Regions from separate parts of the Homo sapiens genome. Here region 1 is linked to region 2. The links are contacts of gene promoters, found by promoter capture Hi-C in blood cells and fetal thymus (Javierre and others, 2016). All regions are on one chromosome and are shown on one strand. Each heading gives the region's core, a stretch centred on a gene start or on the middle of the fragment in contact. The rest is flanking DNA. Distances are from core to core; before and after follow the strand shown. Region 1 has its middle 15 kb from the start of KRABD5. Region 2 holds the start of RUSF1 (RUS family member 1).

Region 1 (5,751 bases), core at 2,440-4,939, 190 kb after region 2:
ATGTTTTAAGGAAGTTTATGAATTTGTATTGGGCCACATTGAAAGCCATCCTGGGTCCCATGTGGTCCATGGGCTGTGGGTTGGACAAGCTTGCAGGTTTCATCCGATCATTGCATGAAAGCAGAGATATGCCATCCACAGCATAATTAAGGTTTGATTATAGATTTTTTTCTTCTTAAAATAAAGTGAGTTTTCAGGTTTCTTTTTTCATTCTGTTTTCTTTACTGAGTGGAACTTCCATTTTACTTTACACATTTTGTTTATAGTCTTCCCCTGTCACACCCACTCCAGCTTGTCATGTGGCACAGTCCTTTTCTGAGCTCATGCACTTCTCAACTCACCCTGACAATGGCAGTCATGAACACATGCACAAACCACTTCTAGCCTGTTCTCATTTCCTTTGAAGCATAAAGAGGACGTCCCATTTCCTGGCTCTCAGATTTTGTCAGCAGATAGAGCCTTAATGTAGTTTGGGCTGGGTGCGGTGGCTCAGGCCCGTAATCCCAGCACTTTGGGAGGCCGAGGTGGGTGGATCACCTGAGGTCAGGAGTTCAAGACCAGCCTGGCCAACATGGTGAAATCCCATCTCTACTAAAAATACAAAAATTAGCTGGACATCATGGTGGGTGCCTGTAATCCCAGCTACTCGGGAGGTTGAGGCAGGAAAATCGCTTAAACCTGGGAGGTGGAGGTTGCAGTGAGCTGAGGTCACACCACTGCACTCCAGCCTGGGCAGCAGAGTGAGACTCTGTCACACACACACACGCACGCACGCGCGCGCGCACACACACACACACACACACACACAAAGCTTTACTATAGTTTGCAGTTGCATTAGAGGTGTTGCCCTCTATCTAGGGTGCAAAGTGGCTTGGTATCACCCATGGACTGGGCCCCAAGCACAATTCACCTGTATAACTTTTCTGGAAGGGTGTCACCCTGGCAGCTTATGGGGACTCTGGTAATACCTTCCAGAGAGTCCTGGGCTAGGGATGTCTGCTGGGTGTGAGACCGACAACCTCCCACCCTCCATATACCTCCTGGGCCAGGACATGGGAATCTCACAGGGCACCCTGCCCCAGGCAGAAGAGGAGGGGACTAGCTTCAGAGGGTGTGGACAGTTCCCTGGTTCCTAGGAGGACTTCAAATGTACTGCAGATGGAAACTCCTTCTACCTCATTTTGAGTCCAACCAACCTACTTGGTGGCTAGAGGAACTTCATGTTTCTATTTATACACATTTTTAAATATATATATTTTACACGAGATGTATGTTTAAACAACCAGAGGCCAGATTTGAAGAGGAACATATCTGGGATTCATTCTGTTGTTGTAAGTGTCACTTAGTCCTGTGTGAGGACAGATTTGCCCTATGTGTAACAGCTACATTTAAGAAAGTTAAGAAATTGTCCTTAGTTTCACAATGGAATATTTCAAAAACAAAATTCTCCAATCGAACAATGTATGCAAAGATTATTATGGTTTTTTCTTCTCCCTGCAACAAGCGTTAAGGATCATTATGTTTGTTATGTTGTTAAAGTCCTGGAACATAGAGATAAGAGGTAAGTGAGCATCCCCTGGTGGAGAAAGGGAGTCTTTTCCCAGAATCAGTGTTTTCCCTCGCCTTGTGTCCATTGGCAATCACTCAACACAAACTGGTGGCCATTCGGTACAATCAAACAAGCAAGCAAACAAAATCATCAATATGCTTGTGCAGCTACACTTGATAATTTATGTACAGTAAAGGAATAAGGAAGGAGAAAGTGAAGAATAGAGAAGGGGATACTGGACCAATCAGACGTGGTGGAACCATATTGCAGTTTTCCACATGAGAATGTCTGTAGGAACAGAGTTCTGGGGTAAAGCCGTGAGTGTGTTCTCAGTAGACACTCCAGTCTGCTTCTGGAACACATCAACTGAATCTTTGTCCTCTGTTTCCAGTTCTGCAGATGTGTCTGTTTCACTGATTGGCCCCAGTCAAAGTGGAATCTGATCTGTGTCATGGACAAACTCTGCCTTTCACCAAAGGCTTCCACTCATTCACTAAGTGGTGTGTGCCTCTTCACCATCAACTGCACCCCGGGACCATCCTACCTGCCACTTTCAAATTCACAGGATTCTGCTCTCGGCCTTGACTCAGGCTCTTTCTCTGCCATAGCAGAGCCTGAAGGCTCTTCAGCTGCAGCTTCACCAAAGAGGTCCAGAGTGTGCACCAAACTAGTGAGCCAGCAGCTCCCGATGCCACAAGTGGAGGAGGCAGCAGAGCCTTACCCGGTGTTTTTATCACCATCCCTGCAGCAACAGCAGCAGCAGCAGCAACAACAATCACAACCACTATTTCTAATTGTGGTAATAATAATGATCACACTTAGAATAATGATGAATAACAATAATTGTAATTGCTGACATATTCAGTTTATATGTAGATTTATTATTTGTAATGTTTTAAAATTTACATTTAGTAATATAGACATTAATTGTGTCATAAATGTCAGGACCCCAAAACACCCCACCTAATGAATGACTCTCATCTATGGACCTATGGCTGCCCACCTGCTAGTGCGGGTGCTCTCACCACTCCACCCCCAGAGCTTCGATCTGTCTGGTCAACCTTCTAGGATGATGAAGTAGCTGAAGCACTCTTATGATCTGATTGAGGTCTTGGCAAACAGCTTGACTTGTTAGAAATCGAAGGCTGACTTTAAGACGTACTCAGCTGTTTGGCTAAATTGAGGCAGGAGGAAATGTCTTCTCGGCAGATCTACCTTTGTGTCTCTTGCTTTCAGAGTAAAACGTTGTTTCGGGAACAGTAGTTTAATTTAGTCTGTGTTAAAAATCATAATCAGACTACAAATAACGCACGGGGATGAAAATAATTTGCACACATGTTCGTGCATTATATGTGTTTTCAGATCTCTCCTATGGTAAGAAATGAAAAAGTTATGCCTTGATTTTTTAAACTCAGCCATCAGCCATTTTCCCAAGTTAATCTAAATGTTTGCAAGACATTTCAGAAGCATTCTCTGGTGGGGATTACTCCTAATTGTGAATAATCCTACTAGAAGGATGAGCATCTCAAAAGAACCTTTATTCTATTGCAGAAGAGTCAGTCTTCAGGATCTCAAAGGCCTAGGGAAGCTGCTTGAGTTGTGAGGTCTATGGAGGTACATGGGCTTTGGAGTCAGGCAAAGTTGATCCAGAGTCCCAGTCCAGCCACTTAGTAGCTGTAGTGCTTTGGACATGTTCCTTGACTTGGAACAGTTATATAAACCTTGCTGTAAGAAAAGGCAGAATGATACTGACTGCAAAATGGCTCTGGTGTCCATGCCCTTTGGAATATGCTTTTACAGCTGCTCCAACATAGAGGCAGAATCTGTTTCCTGACGCTTGGATCTGGGCTGGCCTTATTTGCTCTGGGCAATAGAAAGCTATCAATATGGCAATGTGACAGTTTGGGGTCTAGGGACATAAGGCCTTGAATGCTTCTGCTTTTTCTTTTAGAACCCTGCCATCTCCATGAGAACAAGCACATGTTAGCCTGCTGGAGGATGAGATCCCACTGGGGAGGAAAACCAAGGTGCCCCAGCTGACACCCAGAAGCAGAGCCACTTAGTCAACCAGCAGCTGACCACACACGCCTGAAGGAGCCCAGCTGAGACCAGAAGAATGGCCCAGTTGAGTCCAGCCTAAATGACTGACCATCCCAATCATGAGCTAATAAGGTTTAGGGTGGTTTTTAATGCAGCAATAGCTAACTGATACATACACCTGCAGTCAGGTTGCCAGGATTCAAATGACAGGTTGGTCACTACTTGTTGTTACCTGGCAAACAGAAGGCACTGTATAAGGTATTGATTTGCTTTTCCCTTTATTTAAAGTGGGGCCTCTTGTTGGATAGGGATAAATTATACAGAAATGCATGTTGACATGCTTGGTGCTTAAACTCACACAGTCCCCACACCATAGGAGGAAACAGCCCGCCATAGCCTAACCATCAGGGCCAAGGGCAAATTGCAAAATAAAAAAAATTTGCTTTTATTCCCTCCACATCCAAACTTTGGAGGTCAAGGCTGTAGACAGATCTGAAGTCAGGGGTTTCCTCCTGAAGCCTGACACTCTTCATTCACTGTCTGACCTTTGGAAGGCTGAGGGAGCCCTGCCCAGAAGCAGGTGGGCAGCAGTGGTCGACCTGTGGACACCTCCTGACTGCAGCCCTGGCTCTCTCACTGGGCACTGCCTCTCCCACCCTTGGGCATGAGGAAAGAGATGGGCAGGATGAGGGTGTTCGCTCTCGTCTGGCAGGAAAGGGGGTCCAGGCCCTCGATTTCCCTGAGGTTAGACGCGCAAGTGCCCTCAGATCTGCTCTTCAATGCGGAAGCCACTGCCCACGTGGGGCTGCTGAGCTCTTTGGATAGAGCTGGTTGGAACTGAGATGTGCTAGAAGTTTAAATACAGAGTGACTTTACAAGATTTAGTACCCCAAACTTAAGAAGCATTCTCTGGTGGTCTTCATTAATAATTTCATATTGCTCACATATTTGAGTGATAATATTTTGGATATATCGGGTTAAGGTATTACCATCAATTTTACCTGTTTTCCTTTCATGATGCCACTAGGCTACTGTAAATGACACATGCGGCTCAATTTTATTCCTATTGGACATTTCTGACTTAGAGGACTCCCTCCATTTTCAAATCTCATGCTGCCTCCACAAGGGACCAGAGGCCATGAAGGTTATGAAATCTGAAATTTTAAAAGAATCGTTATTATATAATTTTCAATTTTACATATTACCTATATTACTCATAAATTGATATAATCTTATGAGCAAAGTTAAATACCAATGTCCGGAGCAGCCCCAGGTCCCAGCACAGGGAGTCAGCCCTGCCTGAAAAGGGCTGCAGACAATCATTCATTCAGGCCTCATTCAGCCACACCTGTGATCGCATCTCCTGTCACTCGGGGGTAAGGGGGCGGGACCTGGAGCCCTATCCATTCAGCGGCGCCGTTGTCGAGCCTGTCCAATCAGGCGCGCAGCCGAAAAAGGGGGCGCACTTCCTGTGTTCTGGGCTGGCCTTTTCCTCTCCCAGGTGCGCTTCCCTGCTTGATCTGTGTACCCTGCTCTTTCTCCTTCATTCCGCAGCCTCCTTTGCCCTGTGACCTGCAGGTACTGGACGGTCCCTAGAGAGGATACCGGGACGCTCCTGAAGCCGCGAGATGGTGAGTCTGCGGGGCTGAGCTTCCCGAGACGCGGCAGGGGTCGGCTGGGAACCGGGCCTGCCCCTGGCGGCTCCGGGGTCGGGGCCCGGAGTCTCCTCGGTCACACGGTGCGGCTCGGCCGGCAGCTGGGACCCCGGGCGCCTCGTCCCGTCCCTGCGCGACGACCTTGGTCCTGCCTTGAGCCCTCTCTGGGCAGTTTCGCGCCCGCAGCCCCGTGTCTCCCCGCGTTGTGCGGTGATGACGGGAGGGGCCGTAGGGGAGAACCCCGGCTCGGGGTTCGGGCGTGGGAGGAGCTGTGGTCCGTGGGGTCCGTAGTCCTTTCTTTCTTTTGTTAAAAATTAAACTGAGGTTTGGTTAAAACGTTAAAGATTTTATCTGAGCAAATAACGACCCGTGAATCAGGAAGCCACAACCATGGATTGTGGTTTGGGGTCCACCGGAGGGGCTTGAAGGAAAGGGTTTAATAAGATGCATGAGGAAGCAAAGCCAATTCAGTAATTGATTGGCTACAATTACGTAGTCCCCTTATTT
Region 2 (5,647 bases), core at 256-2,755:
GCCCAGTTTTCTCAGTCTTAATGGTAAAGGTGTAAACAGGAAGCTCCTGTTTTCTCAAAAAAATCCAGAGAGGCTCACAAGGGATGTGGCCAGACTGATGCTACGAATGGAAAGCGCTTTTCCTTAGATCTATTAGGTTGGCTCAAATGTAATTGCGGGTTTTCCATTACCTTTAATGGCAATAACGACAAAGAAACCCCGCAATTACTTTTGCACCAGCCTAATAAATATCCCCTGCGAGCAGTAGTGAAAGACAAAGGACAGTGGCAAAAGCCATGGGGCCTCCTCGTGTAGAACATGTAACAATTTCCCTTTTCTGTTCTATTTCCCTCTCTGGGTGGCATGGTACCAAACTGTATTTTTTTTCCTTAAACAATTTTTTAAAAGCTGTACATATTCAGCAGATAGTCACTCTATTATTTACAGCATCATCTGGTATCCCAGAGCATACACAATACCTTCCATTCTTTCCAGGCTCTCCTCTCTCCTTCTCAGGACCAACTATATCTTTTTTTTCTGGAGCTCACCAATTTCCCCTATCCTGGGCAGCTGGCAGTTTTATTCCATCAATTGCATTCTTATGCAATCTTCCACAAAGAGAATAGGGATAAAGGGGAGGGGACGGGATTTGGGATCCAGATGATTGAGACTCAGAAGTCTGTGTGGGGAATGGAGTGCGGCTGCTAGGCTGGTGAGTGGGATGAGGGTCTTCCAGATGTGGGAAGTAAGACTGGGTTACAAAGCACCACTCTAATCACTGGGGAGACCTGCCTGAATTCTACCTAATGGGGCACGAGTCCATACATATATACACATAAGAGCCCAGCGAAAGCAGGGCTGAAAGCAGCAATACGTGAGGCTCCAGGGGTGCAGCTCACCTTTCACGAGCCAGGTGGCCGTGGCAGCTGAAACAGTGGCTTTTGCGTTCCCCACCCCTATGCCCAGCAAGACTGCCTGGGTGGCTAGGGAGCCGGAGAGGCTGGAAGCAAACGCCTGGAGAAGAAAACAAGTAGGGTGAGAAGCGGGCGTAGGAGCGTGGCGGTCTAAGTGCCTTCATCTGTTCTTGTTCTTGGTGTATGAGGCATGTCAGACCCCCCGCCCCCCGGGCTCCGAGTCTCAGTCACCCGTCCATTATTGGGGAGGGAGGAGTGGCCTGCACTGTCCTCTGCCCCAGACGACCGAGCTGACCTGCACGGAATCCCACAGCTGGTAGGGCAAGTAGTCCGGGCTGACGCTATCAGGGAAGCCCTGAGGCAGGAACACGGCCTGGAGCCCGGAGAGGGGCGGTGAGGGGGCCCCGGAAGCCCCCACTTCGCCCGCATCTCGTCCTTCAGGTTTGACCGTGAAGGCCCTGGAGAGCCCCCACCAGCGCCAGCCCCCGACCTCCCACTGCAGGCTCCCGTCCGCGGCGGCGCGGCAGCCCCGTGCCTCCCCGGAGCCGAACTGCTCGGAACACAGCGGGGTCTCCAAACCCGCGTCGTCAGCCATGCCGAGCTTTTGGATCCCAGCCCCGCCCCTGCCGCACGGTGGACGTGGCAGGCGGCACTTCCGGCTGGGCTACCGCGGCTGCAGAGGGACATCTTTCAAGAACAGGCGCCGGCCTCGGCGTCCGCCGCGCAGTTAGGAAACTGACTGTCGCTCTCTCCGGCCTCGGCGCTGCTTCGGACGCCCCGGCACCGGCCCCCGTTGCTTTGTAGCATTCTGCAGCTGGGCTGCAGGCGCCGTGGGCCTCCGCCAGTTGTGTTCGAGACGCGGTTCGGCCACAGAAGTTTTAGCTTGTGACTTTTGGCAAGTCAGTGGCCCTCTCTGGGCCTCAGGTGCCTTTTTTGCTGTGAGACCAGCGACTGTATTTTTAACCCTGATTTTATCCCTAGATCTACCCAACACATAGTAGGTGCTCAAAAGATATTTATGAGTGAATGAATGCATCATGAGAAGAAATTGGACCAGATGAGGCCCTGTGAAGCTGCTTGGGTCTTTTTTTGTTCTTTTTTTTTTCTCTCTTCTGAGTGTCCCTGGCCTGGACTAGAAATTCTCCATCCTTCGGCCTTCTGCGAGACTGCAGGAACATTACTTTTGAAGGATGCTAAGGAATCCGAGGGATGAAAAAAATCAAGAGATTGCAATGATGTCACAAAACAAGGAAACAAGGCAGGAAGTTCTTGTGTGTTTTTTTGCGGGAGAGAGTCCATGAAATTGGGGGGAGTCCAAAGAGGGAGTGTTTCTGTCCTTGGAACTCACCTTTTCTTCTTTCCATTTCTCCTCTTCTCCTTCCCATCTAGTGCAGCATCTTCACTCCGAAGCAGAAATTTGCCAAAAAAGCATCCTCTTTTTATCAGAAAATAAAATATCCTGGTTTCTTAGCCTGGCATTCTTGGATCCCCACAGTTTGATCCCAACCGACAACTCCTTATTTGAAACTTCAGATTCTCCCAAACCGTCACCTTCCTCGTGGACTTAATCCTGGAAGGCCCTTCTACCCCACTTCGCCTTATCTCACACAAACACAGTCTCTCTCTGACTGAGATAAACTTGAACACTTCTTTTCTTTTCTTTTTTTTTTTCTTTAAATTTCGGGTTTCAAAATACAAATGGCCTAATCACAACATTTCTGTAATGTTGTCTAAATTCAGGTACTGGTTTGAATAGAGGACAAAAATAAAACAAGGTTTGAAGACTAAGTACTTTAAAAACATATTTATTTAAATAGAGGCAGGGCCTCCCTATGTTGCCCAGGCTGCTCTCAAACTCCTGGCCTCAAAAGTGATCCTTGGGCTGGGCGTGGTGGCTCACGCCTGTAATTCCAGCACTTTGGGAAGTCGAGCCAGGTGGATCACTTGAGGTCAGGAGTTTAAGACCAGCCTGGCCAACATGTTGAAACCCCATCTCTACTAAAAATACAAAAATTAGCTGGGCGTGGGGGTGGTGTGGCCATAATCCCAGCTATCCGGGAGGCGGAGGCAAGAAAATCGCTTGAACCGTGCAGTTGTCATTAACTCCGTGTTTGTTATCTCTTTTTTACCAATGGTTTGCCAGTTTCTTCTACAAATACCTGTTGCTACCTATGTGCTCATTGGGATAGTGAGCAAAAACAAACAAGGGTCTTGGTCTTTTGGAACTTATATTAGGGAAGGATATTGATCAAATCATACAAATAAATGCAAAGTTGGAACTATTTCAATTGCTGTAGAGGGGTACATGTTATTTAATATGAGGACTTTTAGAAGGAGAATTGAGCTAATCAGTGGAATCAAGGGAAACTTTTTTTTTTGAGATGGAGTCTCCCTCTGTCACCCAGGCTGGAGTGCAGTGGCACAGTCTTGGCTTACTGCAACCTCCACCTCCTGGGTTCAAGTGATTCACCTGCCTCACCCTCCGGAGTAGCTGGGGTTACAAGCATTCACCACCACACCCAGCTAATTTTTGTATTTTTAGTAGAGACGGGGTTTTGCCATGTTGGCCAGGCTGGTCTTGAACTCCTGGCCTCAACTCATCTGCTTGCCTCGCCTCCCAAAGTGCTGGGATTACAGGCATGAGCCACTGTGCCCGGCCAAGGGAAATTTTTTAACAAAAATTTAAGTTGGGGTCTCTCTGTGTTGCCCAGGCCTCCCGCCTCGGTCTTCCAAAATGCTAGGATTATAGGCATGAGCCGTTGAGGCCAGCTGGGAAACTTTTTTTTTGAGGAAGTGTGTATTTAGCTGAGATCTAGAGTAAGAGTTAACTTGATTATGATGGGAAAATAATTTTCTGGAAAGAAGGAGCAGCATGTCCTGAGTGGGGAGGGAGCATGGTACCTAACATCCAACAAAGGCCGGTGCAGCAGAAGTCTAGAGCACGAGGGGCATGGGGAAAGGGCTGCTAGGGAGTTAGGGGCCAAACTGCAGGACATTGTAGGCCAAGCTCTTCTTCATCCTTAGGGTTAAGATTTATTTTTTATTCTATCAGTCAATCAATCAATCGATCGATGAGACAGGGTCTTGCTCTGTCACCCAGGCTGGAGTGCAGTGGTGCAATCATAGCTCACTGCAGCCTCAAACTCCTGGGCTCAAGTGATCCTCTTGCCTCAGCCTCCCAAGTAGCTGGGACTACAGGCATGCACCACCATGCCTGGCCAACTTTTAAAATTTTCTGTAGAGATGGGATCTCACTATGTTGCCCAGGCTGGTCTCCAACTCCTGGCCTCAAGTGATCCTCCCACCTCGGCCTCCCAAAGCTCTTGAGATTAAAGAATATATTGGTATATGTTGGAGTGGCACTTTAGAGAAGTAGTTGAATAAATTTAATTTTTTTTAAAAGACAGGTTCTCTGTCACCCAGAGAGTGCAGTGGTGTGATCACACTACAGTCTCACTACAGCCTCAACTTCCAGGGTTCAAGTGATCTGCCTCAGCCTCCCGAGTAGCTGAGACCACAGGCGTGTGCCACCATGGCTAGCTAATTTTTGTATTTTATTTTTGTAGAGACAGGGTTTTGCCATGCTGCCTAGGCTGGTCTCAAACTCCTGGGCTCAAGTGATCTGCCCACCTCAGCTTCCCAAAGTGCTGGGCTTATAGGCATGAACTGTGCCTGGCAGAAATTTAATGTTTAATTCTTATTTTCCATTTAGCTTATAACACTGTCAATAAATTATCCTTTCAAAATAATTTTGAGTTTCCTGGCACAGTGAAAGATCAAGCATTGTGTTATATTTGAAAGGTTAGCTTCTGTGAGTGGATAGGACTCTGGGGCATCAGAGGGCCTTACTGTGAATGTAGGTTCTGTCCAGGAAGCTGTCCAGGAAGCTGTGAGATCTTGGGCAAGTTACATATCTCTCTGTCTTTCAGTTTCTTCTTCTGAAAGACGAAATGGTAATGGTAAAATGGAAATAATACTAGTACCTACCACACAGAGTTGGAACGAGAATTAAGAGTCATGTCTTGGCCGGGCGCGGTGGCTCACGCCTGTAATCCCAGCACTTTGGGAGGCCGAGGCGGACGGATCACGAGGTCAAGAGATCAAGACCATCCTGGCCAACATGGTGAAACCCCATGTCTACTAAAAATACAAAAATGAGCCAGGTGTGGTGATATGTGCCTATAGTCCCAGCTACTTGGGAGGCTGAGGCAGGAGAATTGCTTGAACCTGGGAGGTGGGGGTTGCAGTGAGCCGAGATTGCGCCACTGCACTCCAGCCTGGGCGACAGAGCAAGACTCTGTCTAAAAAAAAAACAAAAAACAAAAAAGTCATGTCGTATGTGCAAAACTCTTAAAGTATTTAGCACATAGTACATACTGTTTAAGTGTTGGTTCTTATTCAGAGATAATGTCAAGTGTTCAAATGTGAGGCCCTTGGCTCCAAGTGAGGCAGGTGGCCCTCATGACTAGTGTCACTGTATAATTTATTGTGCAAACCAGGACTTTTGAGAGGGTCATTAAAGGAAGCACTGGTAATAATTGTGTTGGGAAAACAGGTCTGCGGGAAAACAGGTCTGCAGTGAAGCTGTCTCAGGCAAATGGGAATATATGGTCACATTATTTATGAACCCACTGCAGCTCTACTGCTTACCATTGTCCACCTTGACATCTCCTTACTCAGAGACTATGACAGTCCCTGTTCGTTGTAGCATTTACTTAACTCTTAGCCTATGCTGTCTGGAGCCAGTTTGTATT

What was found. The method cuts DNA at HindIII sites, captures the fragments that hold promoters and counts their contacts. A CHiCAGO score of 5 or more calls a contact.
Region 1: a fragment that was not itself captured here is called in contact with the fragment with the promoter of RUSF1 in region 2 in 3 of 17 cell types (erythroblasts, endothelial precursors and activated CD4 T cells); the score reaches 6.6 in erythroblasts.

The regions. Positions count from the first base shown.
Region 1 is chr16:31,695,519-31,701,269 of GRCh38, forward strand. It overlaps the pseudogene CLUHP3. Among named protein-coding and RNA genes, the nearest start is that of KRABD5, 15 kb to the right of the region's middle. RefSeq lists an enhancer at 465-514 and silencers at 4,899-5,038, 5,299-5,448. The HindIII fragment of the contact is 5,761 bases long and covers 810-5,751 here.
Region 2 is chr16:31,506,886-31,512,532 of GRCh38, forward strand. RUSF1 (RUS family member 1) reads right to left here and starts at 1,506. Exons shown (of 13, transcript NM_022744.4): 1 at 1,189-1,506; 2 at 879-993. The coding sequence starts at 1,488. It overlaps RUSF1-DT (RUSF1 divergent transcript), which reads left to right and starts at 1,579. Exons shown (of 2, transcript NR_186401.1): 1 at 1,579-2,151; 2 at 2,288-2,681. RefSeq lists enhancers at 492-1,207, 1,208-1,922, 1,487-2,056 and silencers at 1,217-1,276, 1,337-1,386. The HindIII fragment of the contact is 29,640 bases long and covers 1-5,647 here.